2 separate regions of the Homo sapiens genome follow, and region 1 is linked to region 2. Evidence: promoter capture Hi-C in 16 types of primary human blood cells and fetal thymus (Javierre and others, 2016). All regions are on one chromosome and are shown on one strand. The core of a region is centred on a gene start or on the middle of the fragment in contact, and the rest is flanking DNA. Distances in the headings are between cores, read along the strand shown. Region 1 holds the start of IFIT1B (interferon induced protein with tetratricopeptide repeats 1B). Region 2 holds the start of PANK1 (pantothenate kinase 1).

Region 1 (7,173 bases), core at 4,636-7,135, 270 kb after region 2:
TCTATTAGAAAGTGCTACAGAAATGACATCTTTGGAAATAAGATTGCTTTCTCGTTTATTTCCTTAAGAGCATTGCTGCTTTTATTAAGCCAGCTACCCTTACTAAGCGAGCTCTGTAACAGGAGTTAGGAAACTTGCCTCTACATATATTCTCATCTTGCCCCTCTGAATCTACTTTCCTACATTCTTCACCATGCTCTGTGCTTGGAAGCTGACTCTATGGACTTTATTAACTCCAAAACTCTTTTATTTTTTACTTTCTACTGGGGTTGGCCCACTGGGGAGCACCAGCCAGATATTAAATTGCAGGAGGAGGTGAAGGTCATGGAATTAATTCCTAAGCTCCCACTGTGCTCTGCTTGAGGTTGTCAGTGATTTTTTCACCAAAGGCCTCTTGAGAAGCCCCTCCCCTACAGCTATAGCTTAGAGTCTCCTTGGGTCTGGTTCTCTCCTCTTGCTCCTGTAGGCCCAGGGTTATCATGTTACCACTGTTGTAAACCAACACGCCTCTTCCCGCTGCCCTGCAACCAACAAGCACCATTTCCTGTTGATTTCCCTAAACTTTGCCCATATCGTCTTAAATAGCCCCCTTATTAAACTCTTCTTGGTTATCATGTTGAGGGTGCCTATCAGGGTCAGAACCACCAGTGGGACAGCTCCCTTAGGAGAAGGCCTGTCAAAAAATTGGCCCTTAAGGAAAGTTTTAGAATTTCAAAGTGTGCAGAAATAAGGTCAGTGAAGCAGAGAAAGACTTTACCTCATGGTGCTATGAAGATAGCAGGTGATCTGTAGTGCTTTGGTTCAGGCTTGGAGGCTCCTTCAAGGTTCATCCACAGAGTTCTAGGGCTTCTCAGATAAGCATGGTGCTTATATATGGGAGGTATATCCAGGCAGTTTTTTACACCCTTGATGCCTAGTGAATTGGCAGGGTGAAAATGATACAGAGGAATAGGGCTGTCTCTGCTTTGATTACAAATACATGCTGAGTTTTGGCAGCTAAGAGGATGGGTGTGTGAGAAGCAGTTTTGATACGCAAATTCCCTTGCTGGAGTCAATGTGGTGTAGGAGATAGAGGGTAACTGGACTTTATGATGACATTCAGTGTTGTGGAAAAACCAGTGGCAGACAGGAACGTATATTTTTGTGAATCATGTCAGACTCTGTTGTCAAACTTGTTACTATCACATGTATCCCGCCAGGTGGTTCCAGGGACGTCTACAATGGAAGCTCCTTAGACCAGGGTCAGTGGTTTGTGCCTAAAAGAATACTGTAGAAAGTCATTGTCAATTTGTGGAAGAATGAGGTTGCAGATGGTTAGGTCTTCTTCTGTGGGGCTGTGTTAGGCAAAACAACTCCTCAATTTTGAGATATTGGTCTATAAGAAGGGTCCCATACTGGTTACATCCTCCAGCAGCATTTGCATTACTGCCAACCCTGGCTATAGTGGAGCCTATTCAAGCATATTGACTGTTTTGATGATCTTTACTGTTCACCATTAGTGGTTCAAACAACAATGTTTGAGCTGGTCAGTAGAGAAACATATGCAATGTAGTCAGAGAATGTGATGGGGTCATGGGGGTTAAAAATCTAAATCCAAATTCACATAGTTCTTCTGAGTTGTCCTTATGTTTCTTCTGTTTCTACTATTTTGAAGATTATCTGTTACAAAGCAACAACCATCAGAGAGTCAATCAAACAATGTTCACATGTTTAATGAAAAATTTATATGATCCCAAGGCTGATGTAATTGCCCACACAATTAGCAGAGAAAAAGGAAAATTTGGAAAGCTGCTATTCTGAATTCCTCTTGTGAATTGTTACAATGTCATCCTGTACGTTTCTGGATCTTGGTTTTGTAGGGGTAGTGCACCAAGATAAGCAAAAGGGCAAAGACTGAGAGCGATTTCCCTCTGAGTGAGCATTTCAAGGTAGGGTTATTAACTTCATTACAGTCTTCTCATAATTACCAAATGAAACTGTAGCCTCGCTGTGCTATTTCTTCTTTGTCCTGGGCCTGTAACTAGACTATATTTCCCAGGCTCCCATGTGGTAAGGTGTGGTCATGGGCATGGGATGGGAGGCTGTCAGGAAGCAGAAATGATTCTATAATTGGGTATCTTAAATTGTGTCTGGAAAAAGAGAAGACTAGACCAAGGTGACAGGTGTAATTTGAAAGGAAGCAGCAGTCATTCATATTGGCCAGTTTAAGGGGCTGCTTGATTATTTTCGAATCCAGTTGGAAAATATTCGTATTTTTGTCTGCACTCAGACCTGATTACAGAGTGGCCTTGTATTTTGTCTTGACCCATCATGGTCACAGGTGTTAATGATGCTCTCAGATGTCTGGGGCAGCTCTTCTCTTTCTTTTCAGGGAACTTCTGAGTTACTGCTCCAGTTACTGCTCCTGACCTTTCTAAAGCCAAAAATTATATAGACAAGAAGGACTACCCAGAAAAGGAACGTCACATAAGATCTTATGCATTCACAGTTGAAATGAGAGCAGACATCTTAGGAAAAGAATATGCTTAAGAAAGAGTATAGTATATAATCTCTCTCTCTATGTGAATTAAAAACCCATCTCCACGTCTATTCAAGGAAGGATTTAGGCAACTTGAGATAGACCACATCTCCCCATTCGCATGAGACAAGTTCCTAGAAGAATGTGCTGGACCTCTTGACTTCTTCTTCTTTTTTTTTTTTTTTTTTTTTTAAGATAGAGTCTCGCTGTATCACCTAGGCTGGAGTACAGTGGCACTATCTCTGCTCACTGCAACCTCTGCCTCCCAGGTTCAAGTGATTCTCATGCCTCAGCCTCCAGAGTAGCTGGCACTACAGGTGTGCACCACCATACCCAGCTATTTTTTTGTATTTTTAGTAGAGATGGGGTTTCACCATGTTGGCCATCCTGGTTTCGAACTCCTGACCTCAGGTGATGCACCTGTGTTGGCCTCCTAAAGTGTGGGATTACAGGTGTGAGCCACTGCACCTGGCCCGTCTTGACATCTTACAAGCACAGGATATCATTTAGATCCATGTATTCTTCCATAAACCCACCAAATCTCAACATTACTTAAGTAATGAGAATCCCCATTTTATTCCTTGAGTATACTCTAATAATAAAAGTAGGCAGAAAAATTCTCTAAGCATAATGACAGCACAGAAATGGAGGTTAGAACCATTCAGGGGAATGAGGGAAAGGAAACTAGGCCCACGTAGCCCTGCTGTGGAAGACCAAGTTTGCTGAAAGGGAAGAATGATTGTTAGTCAAACATTGTTCCATCTGGGGTTGAGCAAACCAAGGCCATTAGAAAAAACCTTCTACACCTGTCAGGTGACAGAATCACCTGATGGAGGGGGTTCTGCACAGATATTTGCCATCTTGTTTATTTTGGGGTTGTGTACTCTGAGTATAAGACAATAGCACCCCATCATAGAACAACCATTATTCTATATTTGGGGCCAATGGGATGTTTTCTTCTGAGGTTTCCTTTCTTGCTCTGCAGCTTGGGCATAATGAGAACTATTAAAACCCTTTACCTTTACTTGTCTTTGTGCGCACAAGATGATGTTGCTCAGTAGTGAAGGCCACCTGGAATCAGACTACCTGGGGTCATTAATGGACTTTGCTGCTTACTGGACATGTGATCTTGGGATAGTTGGTTCACATTTCTAAGCCACATTTACTTACCCATGGAATCGGAATAGCACTAGGACTTTCGTCATGGGGTTATGTTGAGATGAAGTGGGATATTGCATGGAAAGCATGTCTCATTTAACAGCATTCAGTAATTGTGAGTGTTGCTTTCACAGTGTGGGACAAGTCCCCTTATCTGTGCAGTCTGTGCTGACCATTAGCTGGAGCCCTTCCAGACTACAATTTTTCCCAGTGGGCACTGAGAGAGAGGTGTTTCATGTCATATCTGACTGTGCAGCTGCTGAGATAGGGGTGTCCTGTTCTGAGCTTCAGGCCAGGGCAATCTACATATTCCCATCTCAGGCTCAGGTCAGGGAGCCCTGGCCATATCTACACATAGAGCCCAGCAGTACCTCTTGGGCAGCAGGCATTCAACCTCTCCCTAGTGAGGATGGACCTGTGTAGGGGGAGAAGAGATTTTGGAATGGGACTCATTTCCTCTCAGCTCTCTCTCTCCAGTTCTGTATCAGATGGGAAGCTTCTAGGAGGCCAATTGTGTTTTCAGATACAAATATCTTCTGTAAGGCACTAGCCCTGAATCAACTCTAAAAGGGATAGAAACATAAGCAAATACTGAAATGAACATTAGGAGAGCTGCTTACACTGAGAGTAGTATGACTTTGGAATTTTCATGCATAAAATTATTGCTAGTAACAGCGTGTCAGAGAAACAGAGTGAGTGTTTGTCATGTGGTCACTGAATTTGGCAGCAGTCCTGGTTCTGTGAGGCTCTGGCTCAACTGATTAGGTATTCAGGATCTGGCCCAGTGTGTCCTTGGATAAATACAGCCATGAACCACACAGGACAGAGCAACAATAAGGAAACAGCCAACACATTGTGTAAGAGAGAGAGAGAGAGAGTGTGTGTGTGTCTGTGTCTACAAATAGGAAAAAAACAATGGAAACTAGAGAGGGAAACTCATTTCTAATGGGCAGGATGCCTACTTGTAGAAATGAAACTTAAGCATTGGAGAAATAAAACTTAACCACTATCAACATTCCAGAACCAGCTCTGTGTTCGACGAACTAGCAGAGTGAACTTGATTTCACTTAAACACTGAGTTTCCTCATCAGGTATAGAAAAAGGTTGGCCTTGAACAGTGGTTTACAACCTTGGGCTGCAAGGTTGTAAAATTCCTTGGAAGTCTTTTAAAAATGCAGATGCCTGAGCCAATCTCCAGCCCAATCAATCAGAATCTCTGGAAGTGAAGCCCAGGCATGAGTATTATCAGTAAGTTTTCTGAAAAAAGTAATCCCAAAGTGATTTTTTTGTGCATGGTTTAAAACCACTAGACTAGATTTTTGCTACTCAGGATATGGTCTGTTACAGTGGCATCCTCAACTACTAAAAGCCCAGAAATGCAGAATATCAGGCCCCTCTACAGATCTCCTGAATGAGAACTTGCCTTTTAACATGTCCAGATGATTTGTTGGTACATTAAAGTTTCACAGATACTTTTCCAAATGATCCCTGGATCCCTTTCAGGTCCAAATGCTTTGGATCAGAGACTAATTCCTAATAAATACCTATTTTCTATGAGGCTCTGAGTCTAGAACTTTATTTTTCTATGCTTTGGTTTCCCCTTGTGCACCTTAATAATCCATGCAATACCAGAAAGGATGTAGGTCAAAGTGCACTGACCTCTACAGAGAGTGTCTGATGTTTGCTTTTGAGACTACTCATGTTTGCAAACTTGCACCAATCATGTCCACAGAGAAAATACTCAGCTACTAGGAACTTCTCTGCTCTGAAAGTCCTGGTAATCTTCATACCACCTCAGGGGTCTTGATGGCTATCTTTGGGCTACTCTGATTTACTTTTCTGGCTGACTCCCACGTGTTCCAGTTTTTTTTTTTTTTTTTTTTTTTTGAGAGGGAGTCTCGCTCTGTCGCCCAGGCTGGAGTGCAGTGGTGCAATCTTGGCTCACTGTAAGCTCTGCCTCCCGGGTTCACGCCATTCTCCTGCCTCAGCCTCCCGAGTAGCTGGGATTACAGGCACCCACCACCACGCCCGGCAAATGTTTTTTGTATTTTTAGTAGAGACGGGGTTTCACTGTGTTAGCCAGGATGGTCTCGATCTCCTGACCTCATGATCCGCCCGCCTCTGCCTCCCAAAGTGCTGGGATTACAGGCGTGAGCCACCGCGTCCGGCCCCACGTGTTCCAATTCTAACTGAATTTCTGTGCTTTCATTGTTTTACATGTCAAATATTCATTCACCTGGAATTGTCTATATAAATTGTAGGAAGCATTTACATCACTGAACTAGACTCAAGATATTTCATAGATCCTATAATGTCTATTGGAAAAGTCCTCAGGTTCCCGGAAAGCAAGTTGTTTTTAGACTGTCTGAAGTATCTTGGGACTTGAAAAGTCCATGTCTATAAAGGAAATGAGAAGAGGTGAAGATGTTTTCTAGATGCAATTGAAATTTAGGATTATACATTGAGCTGAAAAAAGAAGTTCAATGCCATTCCCATGGTTCTGGGAAACCCACAGAGGTTTAAGGAACCTGCGATCCAAACATATTGTTAGCATGGCCAAGGCAGACTTCATTGCTCTAAGCTCCTTGTCCATTTCTATAATCAGCAAGCTATGAATTATCATTAGGTACAGGCCAGGTACTCTGTTGGGACACATAGGGCATGTTTCCTCTTCTCAAGTGACCTGTCATGTAGCAGGAGACAGATTGATAAGCGCTTAATTTGCTTTTAATAAAAACAGTACACATTGGTTGCTTTGAAATAACAGAGAATTGGATGTTTATCTCTTCCTGAGGTTCATGAAAAACTTCCTCAGTTAACTTTTGGTCTTTAACCTGAAGTGTTTGGCAAAATCATAATCCTGTTGTCTCCCCCACTGGAAGAATACTTCCAAGACTGTCTAGTCTGTGAGCAGGTCTGACCCCAAAGGGTCCCTGTGGCTACTCTTGCAGTGTGCAATGATGCTGGCTGCACACACTAGGGGAAAGGCTTTGGTCTAGGACCATAAACCTGTTCTTGTATCTCAAGTCATGGTAATCCTGCAAAAGCAGATAAGACAGAATGTGCAACGGTGAAACTGCCAGCTGACTACCAAATTAGTACACCGGAGACGGGAAGTTTTCTGTGATAGGGGCCTCTATGAGGGGCTTCCTCCTACTCTCTACCCTCAAGTAGGTCCCATATTTGTGTTGTTCCCTTCTTTGTGTCCACATGTACTCAGTGTTTAGCTCCCACTGGTGAGTGAGAACATGCAGTATCTTGTTTTCTGTTTCCATGTTAGTTGACTTAGGATAATGGCCTCCAGCTCCATCCATGTTGCTGCAAAGGACACGATCTTGTCCTTTGGCTGCATAGTATTCATGCAACCAAAATTTAGAATCTTAAATTAGATGGGCTAAAAAGAACATAGATCAACACCCATGTTATTCCTATAGCTCTGAGAATTCCAAGGATGTTTAAGGTTCCAATGGTAAAAATAACTGGTCAGATGGTAGGCG
Region 2 (7,674 bases), core at 3,220-5,719:
CAGATAACATTACTATTGTAGAACCTAAGATTGGCCTTTTGAGATGTCTTTTCAGGGTTTTGCATTTTTGACAACCAGTGGCTCCACGTGGACCTGCCAACCCATCCTGTGGCCCCTCCCAGAGGCAGACTCAGCACATATGCAGAAGGACCATTTTCCACACTCCTATGATTGCATCCCCAGCCAATCAGCAGCACTCCATTCCCTGGACTGCCAAACTATCCTTGAAAAACCACAGCCTCTGAATTTTCAGGGTGACTGATTTGAGTAATAAAACCCCAGTCTCCTGTTCAGCTGGCTCTGCATGAATTAACTCTTTCTCTTTTGCAATTCCCCTGTCTTGATAAATCGGCTGTATCTGGGCAGCAGGTAAAATGAGCCTGTTGGTTGGTTACATAAACTTTTCAGCCATTACTGCTCACCTTCTCCCTTCTCAGGCTGCTCTTCAGCCTTGTGGAACTCCTGGCAGTTTCCCAAAAATGCCAGGTTGTTTCAAATGCACCCACAGAGTCTTGGCTCCTTCAGTTCTGAGTAGATTCTTTTAAACCTTCCCTCCCTATTCACCTGAAGAAAGGCCAATATTATTCAAAATTCAGTTTAAGGGTCATTTCCTCCCTGAAACCTGTTTTAGCTTCCACCTCAGCACCACTCCCCCATAAACCCCCACCCCTGACTCTGTCATTGCTCACTCTCTGGGGTCTTCTGGAGTTACCTCCCGCAGCATAGATGGCATACTTTGCTTCCTTCATTGTTTCTCCAAGCCATGATGATCATCTGCATCAAATCCCCTGTTTTTGAAAAAGTTATTTTTTTAATTTTAAAAATATTTATTATCATCTTCGTTATCATCATCATCACCTACTGATGAATCAGTCTATGGGAACTGGACCCAGAATCTGTGCTTACAAAATATCCTGGGTTGCAAGTTACACTGCATGTTCATTTTTTGCAAAATACCTTGAGCTTTATAAGATATGCATACTTTTCTGTATGTATGTTAGTTTTAATACAAATTTAAAAAGGAAAAATTCCCTAGGTTATTCTTACATAACACTGATGCTGGAGAATCACTGACTTTTCTCTCTCTACTGAATTGTAAGCCCTTTGAGGGCAGTGAAGCCATCTATTTTGTCTTTGTATTCCCAGCATGCTTTAGTGCCTACAACATAGTACACACAATAAATGATTATTAAATAAATGAATAAGACCCAAGGGAGTGCACTGGTTTGTGGGTTCCCTTCTCCCTCACTCTCTTCCAAACATTTGTTGCATGCCCCTCCTGGAGGACATGACAGCTCACGCCTCAAAGTTACACCTCCTACACACACCCCTGAATAAACCTGTGAGATGCCACCTGGCTTCTTCCCTACCATACGCTGGGTGTAACTGATCCAAGCACCCAGCCTGACAAGGGTAGGAGAAAGGAAGCAGGTGGAGGACGTTCTGTCCCAGTACCAGTACTTTTGCCCTGCCTGGGTCTGAGCCACCTGGCTCAGGCCTTCCTCAGCAGGCCTGGGAATCCAGCTAGAAAAAATATGTCCTTGGAGATATTGCAATGCTAAAGCTTCTATTTGCATCTCTGATGTAATTTGCTTCCTAAGCCACTCAGCTCAATTATGTGGGAATTTGAAAATGATATATTTGAATATTTAGGAGTGGCTGGTGATTTTTAGCAAATTTACAGTAGAAAGTGAGGGGGACTCTGTGTGAAATATCATCTAAGTCAGGGGTGTCCAATCTTTTGGCTTCCATGAGCCACACTGGAAGAGGAAGAATTGTCTTGGGCCACACATAAAATACACTAACACTAATGATAGCTAATGAGCTAAAAAAAAAAAAGTCACAAAAATAAATCTCATGTTTATGAATTTGTGTTGGGCCGTATTCAAAGCCGTCCTGAGCCGCATGCAGGCTGTGGGCCACAGGCTAGACAAGCTTGATATAAGTCATTTATCCAGTCACAAATAATTACCAAGTGCCTCCTAGGGATAGAGTGATGAACAAGTCATCTGCCTTAAAGATGCTTACAGTGAAGTGGGGTAAGATGGGCAATCAAATAATAATAATGTCTTTTTCTAGCACTTACAATGTGCTGGACACTTTACATATGTTAACCTTAAATAATGAGATTTAGAGAACATGATTAAGTATGAAGTTTGAGTGCAAAGCTTGAGGATAGCCACCTGGAAACACTAACTCCAAATGAGTGGGATCAGTGCTCCAAAGTGGAGAAGTTAAGATTTCACTTATACTGGCAGAGATGGAGAAGTTCCAGCAGAATTACATTTTCCATACAAGACCAATGCATATGCCACAGCGATTTGATTGGTTGCAGACTGCTGCATTCCAAGGAAGATTATTACTCTGTGAGGAGAGGCAGTGATCCAAGGGATTAGTATCTCTGGCCCTGCTCGGTCTTCCTAATTATTTACAAGGAAAAAAGGCAAGCCCAGGCATGGTGGCTCATTCCTATAATTCCAATACTTTGGGAGGCCAAGGTGGGAGGATCGCTTGAGCCCAGGAGTTGGAGGCTACAGTAAGCTACGACTGTGCCACTGCACTCCAGCCTGGGTGAAGGAGTGAGACCTTGTCTTAAAAAAAAAAAAAAAAAAAGCAGAAGTTGTAGCTGCATAGCCACATTTCTCTCAAGTCTCACAAAAAAGTTCCAATAGCTTGAAGTTTGAATTAATTTTACGCATGTGTTATGCATTTCATCAGTCTAACAACTCAGTGATGTCCTATTATTCTCAAGTTACAAATGAGGGAACAGATGCATGGTATAGTTACAAAATGATAAGGAGTCATAAACAGAGTACAAGGAGTAGGAAGAGGGTATGGCAGGGAGACCTAATGTAGCCCTAAGGGTCAGGGAACATTTCTCTAAATATGAGAAGTTAAAGAGGAGATCTAAAGTTGGAGTCTAGTAGACAAAAGAGGTCTTAGAGAAGAGACTTCTCTAAGGCAATGGAAACAGCAGAATGTTGTTTAAGGAATTGAAGGCAGCACAGGGAGCCCCTGATGAGGCAGGAGAGGTAGGGAGGGGCCAGATCACCTGGGTTTTTTTCTCTGTCTTTAAATAGCATAAGGTTAGGGAAGCTAAGAGAGTTGAGATTTGGAGTTTAGTCCCACCTTTGCTCTTAATAACCTCAGCCATCTGTCTGCAGCTCAGTTTCCTGATACGAAAAAAGTATGCAAGAGTGGATAGACCAGAGTGCTCCAGTGGCCCCCATGGTTCTCAAGCTCTGATTCTAGGTAAGGCTCTGCTGGAAGGAATTGCCAGATGCAAGCCCTAGATGCTGCTGAATGCACTGAAGCCCAGGGGCCCAGCAACCCAGTAGCCAGCCAGCACCTGCCAGACTCTGACTCCTCTGTAGATTAATTGCAAATCACGGAGAATATCACAAAATAAATCACACAATAAATACGGCTGTAAGCATGGTTTGTTCCCCTGTCGAAACAAAGGGTGAACTGCTAATCATAATAGCGTAATAAGGAAAACTAGCTTTCTGAGCATTTACTGTGTGCCAGGATTGTACCAGGTACTTTTAGTAGATTTTCTCACAACAGCCCCATTATGGATAGGAAAGTGAGGCCTCAAGAGATTGCATAACTTTGGGAAGGTATTCACCACCCAAATTAGTCCTGCATAGTGAGCATGGACAGTCCCGTTTCCTATTGCTAGAAGTGTTACCTTGAGCATTAACGTTATCTGGGTTTGCTCAGTGGCTGAGTTGGAATTTGAACCCAGTGCTAACTCCAAAGCTCGTAGTGCTGGTCACCACGTGATGCCGCCTTCCCTTCTTAGAAGAGGCAACTCCTTACTCTATAAATAACATGACATTGTCTTTTGAAGTCCTTTCTGGGTGAGGAAAGTGCTTTTTATAGCATGGAATTGCTCCTGTTTACTTGATCTCTTTCAGCACCGATTAATCCTGCCTACAGTTTTGTCCTTCACTGTCCTTACACTGTATTCCTAGGTTTCCTCCCTGCAAAAGACAACTCCATGAGACCACATGGTGTTTGAGTGTGTGTGCGTGCCAGCAAAGAAATTTCACTCCCCTCCCTCCCCAAGTCTGCCAACTTTTCTATAAATAATTGTTCTCCCTCCCCTCAGGCCTCTAAGTAGTTTGGTCACTTAACCAAACGCACAGGCACACACGCGCGCGCGCGTAAGCACACACTCACAAAGCGGGGAGGGTAACGTGAATGACCTTGCAAAGGTATCTTGCTCACTGGGGACAGGATTAGCAAACCTGACACCTCTGCAAATAATTGTCTTCCTCCCGTATTCCTCCTGAAACGGTTCGCTCCTTTCGCTGTCTCTCCCAGACCCATCTGGTTTTCACATCGCCATACAAAGCCCAACCCGCCCATCTCCTCTCTGCAAGCCCAGAGAACTTGATTCCCCATGTTGAAACTCGTCGGTGGCGGTGGCGGGCAGGACTGGGCATGCTCAGTGGCGGGGACCAGTCTGGGAGGCGAGGAAGCCGCGTTTGAAGTCGCGCGGCCTGGGGATCAGGGGAAGGCGGGCGGCGGGAGCCCCGGCTGGGGGTGCGCGGGGATCCCCGATTCCGCGCCCGGGGCTGGCGTGCTCCAGGCCGGCGCCGTGGGGCCGGCGCGCGGGGGGCAGGGCGCAGAGGAGGTGGGGGAGTCGGCAGGAGGAGGGGAGGAGCGCCGGGTTCGCCATCCCCAGGCGCCGGCTCTGCGGCTGCTGAATCGGAAGCCGCAGGGAGGATCCGGGGAAATAAAGACGCCGGAGAATGACCTCCAGCGAGGCCGCCTGAGCCGGGGCCCGCGCACAGCCCCGCCAGCCCCCGGCATGGGCGACCGCAGCGGGCAGCAGGAGCGCTCGGTCCCGCACTCTCCAGGGGCCCCCGTGGGCACCAGCGCCGCCGCTGTGAACGGGCTGCTGCACAACGGCTTCCATCCGCCGCCAGTCCAGCCGCCGCACGTCTGCAGCCGGGGTCCAGTGGGCGGCAGCGACGCGGCGCCCCAGCGCCTCCCGCTCCTGCCGGAGCTGCAGCCGCAGCCACTGCTCCCTCAGCATGACTCCCCGGCCAAGAAATGCCGGCTGCGGAGGAGGATGGACTCGGGGAGAAAGAACAGGCCGCGTAAGTCCCGCTGGGAGGGGAGCGCGGGCGCAAGGCAGACGCAGCGTGCGGGGCCCGGGACTGGGAGCGGCTGAGGCAGGCGCCGCAGCACGCCCCGTGCGCCCCCGCGTCTGCGGTCGAGGGACTGCACAGAGTAGGTTCCCGGGACTGATTCTTTTCCTAGGGGACATCAAGCACTACAGGTCTTTGCCTGAGCCTGCCCTTTGCTCGCTTCTATCAGTAGAACGAGGATTGGACACGAAGCTTGAGCGGGTCCCTAGGTCAAGGATATATAATAAGCGAACGCTCTGTCCGCCCTTCTAATTGGTGGCTGGGAAAACGCAGGTGTGTGAACATTTGCTGGGGTCCAGGAGTGAGGATAAAGTGGGCGGCACACCGAGGGTGCTCTCTCCTTTCTCACCCCTCTCGCTTCTCTGAGCGCGTCCTACTGGGGTTGCCTGCCCTTTGAATCACAGAGTAGCCAGCAGCGTCTCGGGTCTATTGGAGAGCGCAAGTCTGGAGGCGTGGAGTTTAACTACCCCCCAAAATCACAGCCTATTAGAAGCTGTTTCTTCACGGCCAATGAGAGGGTTTTTTGGGAGGGACACACCCACTGATACCATGTGGGCCGGAACTATGTGGACCAATGAGGATTGGAGGTGGATTTTTTTTTTCAACGAAGGGGGAGGTTGAGTTGAGGGTTTGTAATTGTAATGTACACCGGAGAAAGCCGAAGTGCATTATTTCACAATCTAAAGCTTGTATATATAATGGTAGTTTGTAAAGTGTACCTTCCCCACAGGACGCTGTGGGATGTAAATTTGTAGGTCGAGTTTACAGCTGGTTTTTCTTGACTGAAGCTCATTCAACTGGTTACTTCTTTGTGGGTGTCTTTAATGAAGCTTATAAATGGCAAAAAGCAAAGTAAGTACAGTAAATGCTAATAAATGACTGCATTTGCATAGAGGTTATGCTGTTCGATATAGGGAAATTGTTAAGTAGGTTTTGGATTTCTGTGAAAGTTTAATGTTTGGCAAATAACACCTTCACTTTTCCCTGTTTCTATGTCTTTTTGACTCTTAGCTTTTCTGTATTGGATTAAGGTTTCTAAGACCTTGGAAAGCCCTTTGACATGACTGTGGGTGACTCTGGTACTTGTATTTTGTGGGTTTGAAATGTTAAATTTGTAGGTTAAGATTTTGTGTGGAACTTTAAAGCCAAACAGCAGATTTGGCTACAGTTGTAAGGTGTAAGGTTGTAATCTAGCACCTGAATTTTTATTTGCTTTTGTTTTTGATACTTGTTAGAAAATGACTTTCATTAGTATTAATATTTTAAAAGTCAGGACTTAATATTGATTACCTGTGATTTATAAACCTGTTTCACTTATTTTGAAGCTATACTTCAGTTATTTCTCTTATCTACATTGACAGATTGTACTAGAGTTTGCAATGAAAATAGCTAAAATATAATGAAAGGGAGCTTCTAGCTTAATCTTCTATGTTTAATTGAGGATATAACACCTCTTGAAATAACTTCTGAGGAATTGAAAATACACCCTCTAGGAATATCTTGAAGACAGAGAAAAACTAACCTGAGCCTTAACTTGTGCTTGCAAACCCACAGAAATTATTTTAAAATACAAGAAAATGTAACTATCTGCCTGTGTGCTTTGTATCAGAAATTAAAGTGGTTTATGTTTCTTACAGAATAAAAATCCTAGTTGTTTTAAGTTTCATGACCACGATTGTTACTTATAATTTTTAAAAAACGGTTCGTCAAAATTGGATTTACATTATTTACCATGTTTTCTTCTCTCAGATTTGAACAATCATGTCTGAAATAAATTTTACATGTTCCTAGGAGTCACATCTGGCCTTTTCACTACCAAAATTTCTTAGTTAAAAATGGCTTAACTTAATATCTTTGTGCCTTGCCTATTGACATTCACATATCTTTATAAAAAGAATATTGTCCAATCAGTTGATATTTAGTTACTCTAAGAGGAATTAGGTACTCTAAGAGGAATATTTAGGTACTCTGTGAGTATTTACATACTCTAAGCTTATTCCTATTTGCTGATGACTGACAGATTTTACAGGAACGATTTTTGCAAAGAGTAGTTGTGTGCTTTAAACGCAAACTTTAGTGTGTGCTGGTGGCGAAGCATCAAGCTAGACACATAATTATTTCCTCCTGGTCAGTTACAACAGTTTGGCCTCTGTCCCAACAAGATGTGTGTTAAGATAGCCAGTGTTAACACTTGTAAATGCACCTGGAATGCATGTGTGGATAGGTGTGTTTCTATTTTGTAGTATTGTAGGTAAAGGACAATACACATTAAAATACTTCATGTTTGAAAATGATGGATGGAATAAAACAGATCAGTATTTTTAGATTATTTAACAAATTTTAATCTGACCTCTCAGTGCCGAGACTATTCACCATCCTACAATCTAAAAGTCAGACCAGTGGCAGGTTAATTTTGCTAAACCAGGAAAGGAGAATGTTGTCCACTCTTTTCATCTAAAGTGCCATCACCTCACTCTACTTATTCTTGGAAGGCTTTTCTTAGACTATCTAC

What was found. The method cuts DNA at HindIII sites, captures the fragments that hold promoters and counts their contacts. A CHiCAGO score of 5 or more calls a contact.
Region 1: a contact is called between a fragment that was not itself captured here and the fragment with the promoter of PANK1 in region 2, in 1 of 17 cell types (erythroblasts). The highest score is 5.1, in erythroblasts.

The regions. Positions count from the first base shown.
Region 1 is chr10:89,371,725-89,378,897 of GRCh38, reverse strand. It overlaps IFIT1B (interferon induced protein with tetratricopeptide repeats 1B), which reads right to left and starts at 842. Exons shown (of 2, transcript NM_001010987.2): 1 at 758-842. The coding sequence starts at 762. It also overlaps a transcript of LIPA not described here. The HindIII fragment of the contact is 3,422 bases long and covers 4,175-7,173 here.
Region 2 is chr10:89,642,037-89,649,710 of GRCh38, reverse strand. PANK1 (pantothenate kinase 1) reads left to right here and starts at 4,469. Exons shown (of 7, transcript NM_148977.3): 1 at 4,469-5,111. The coding sequence starts at 4,820. It overlaps PANK1-AS1 (PANK1 antisense RNA 1), which reads right to left and starts at 5,597. Exons shown (of 5, transcript NR_184344.1): 1 at 5,512-5,597; 2 at 713-788; 3 at 423-564. RefSeq lists silencers at 4,466-4,945, 5,646-5,695. The HindIII fragment of the contact is 3,186 bases long and covers 2,171-5,356 here.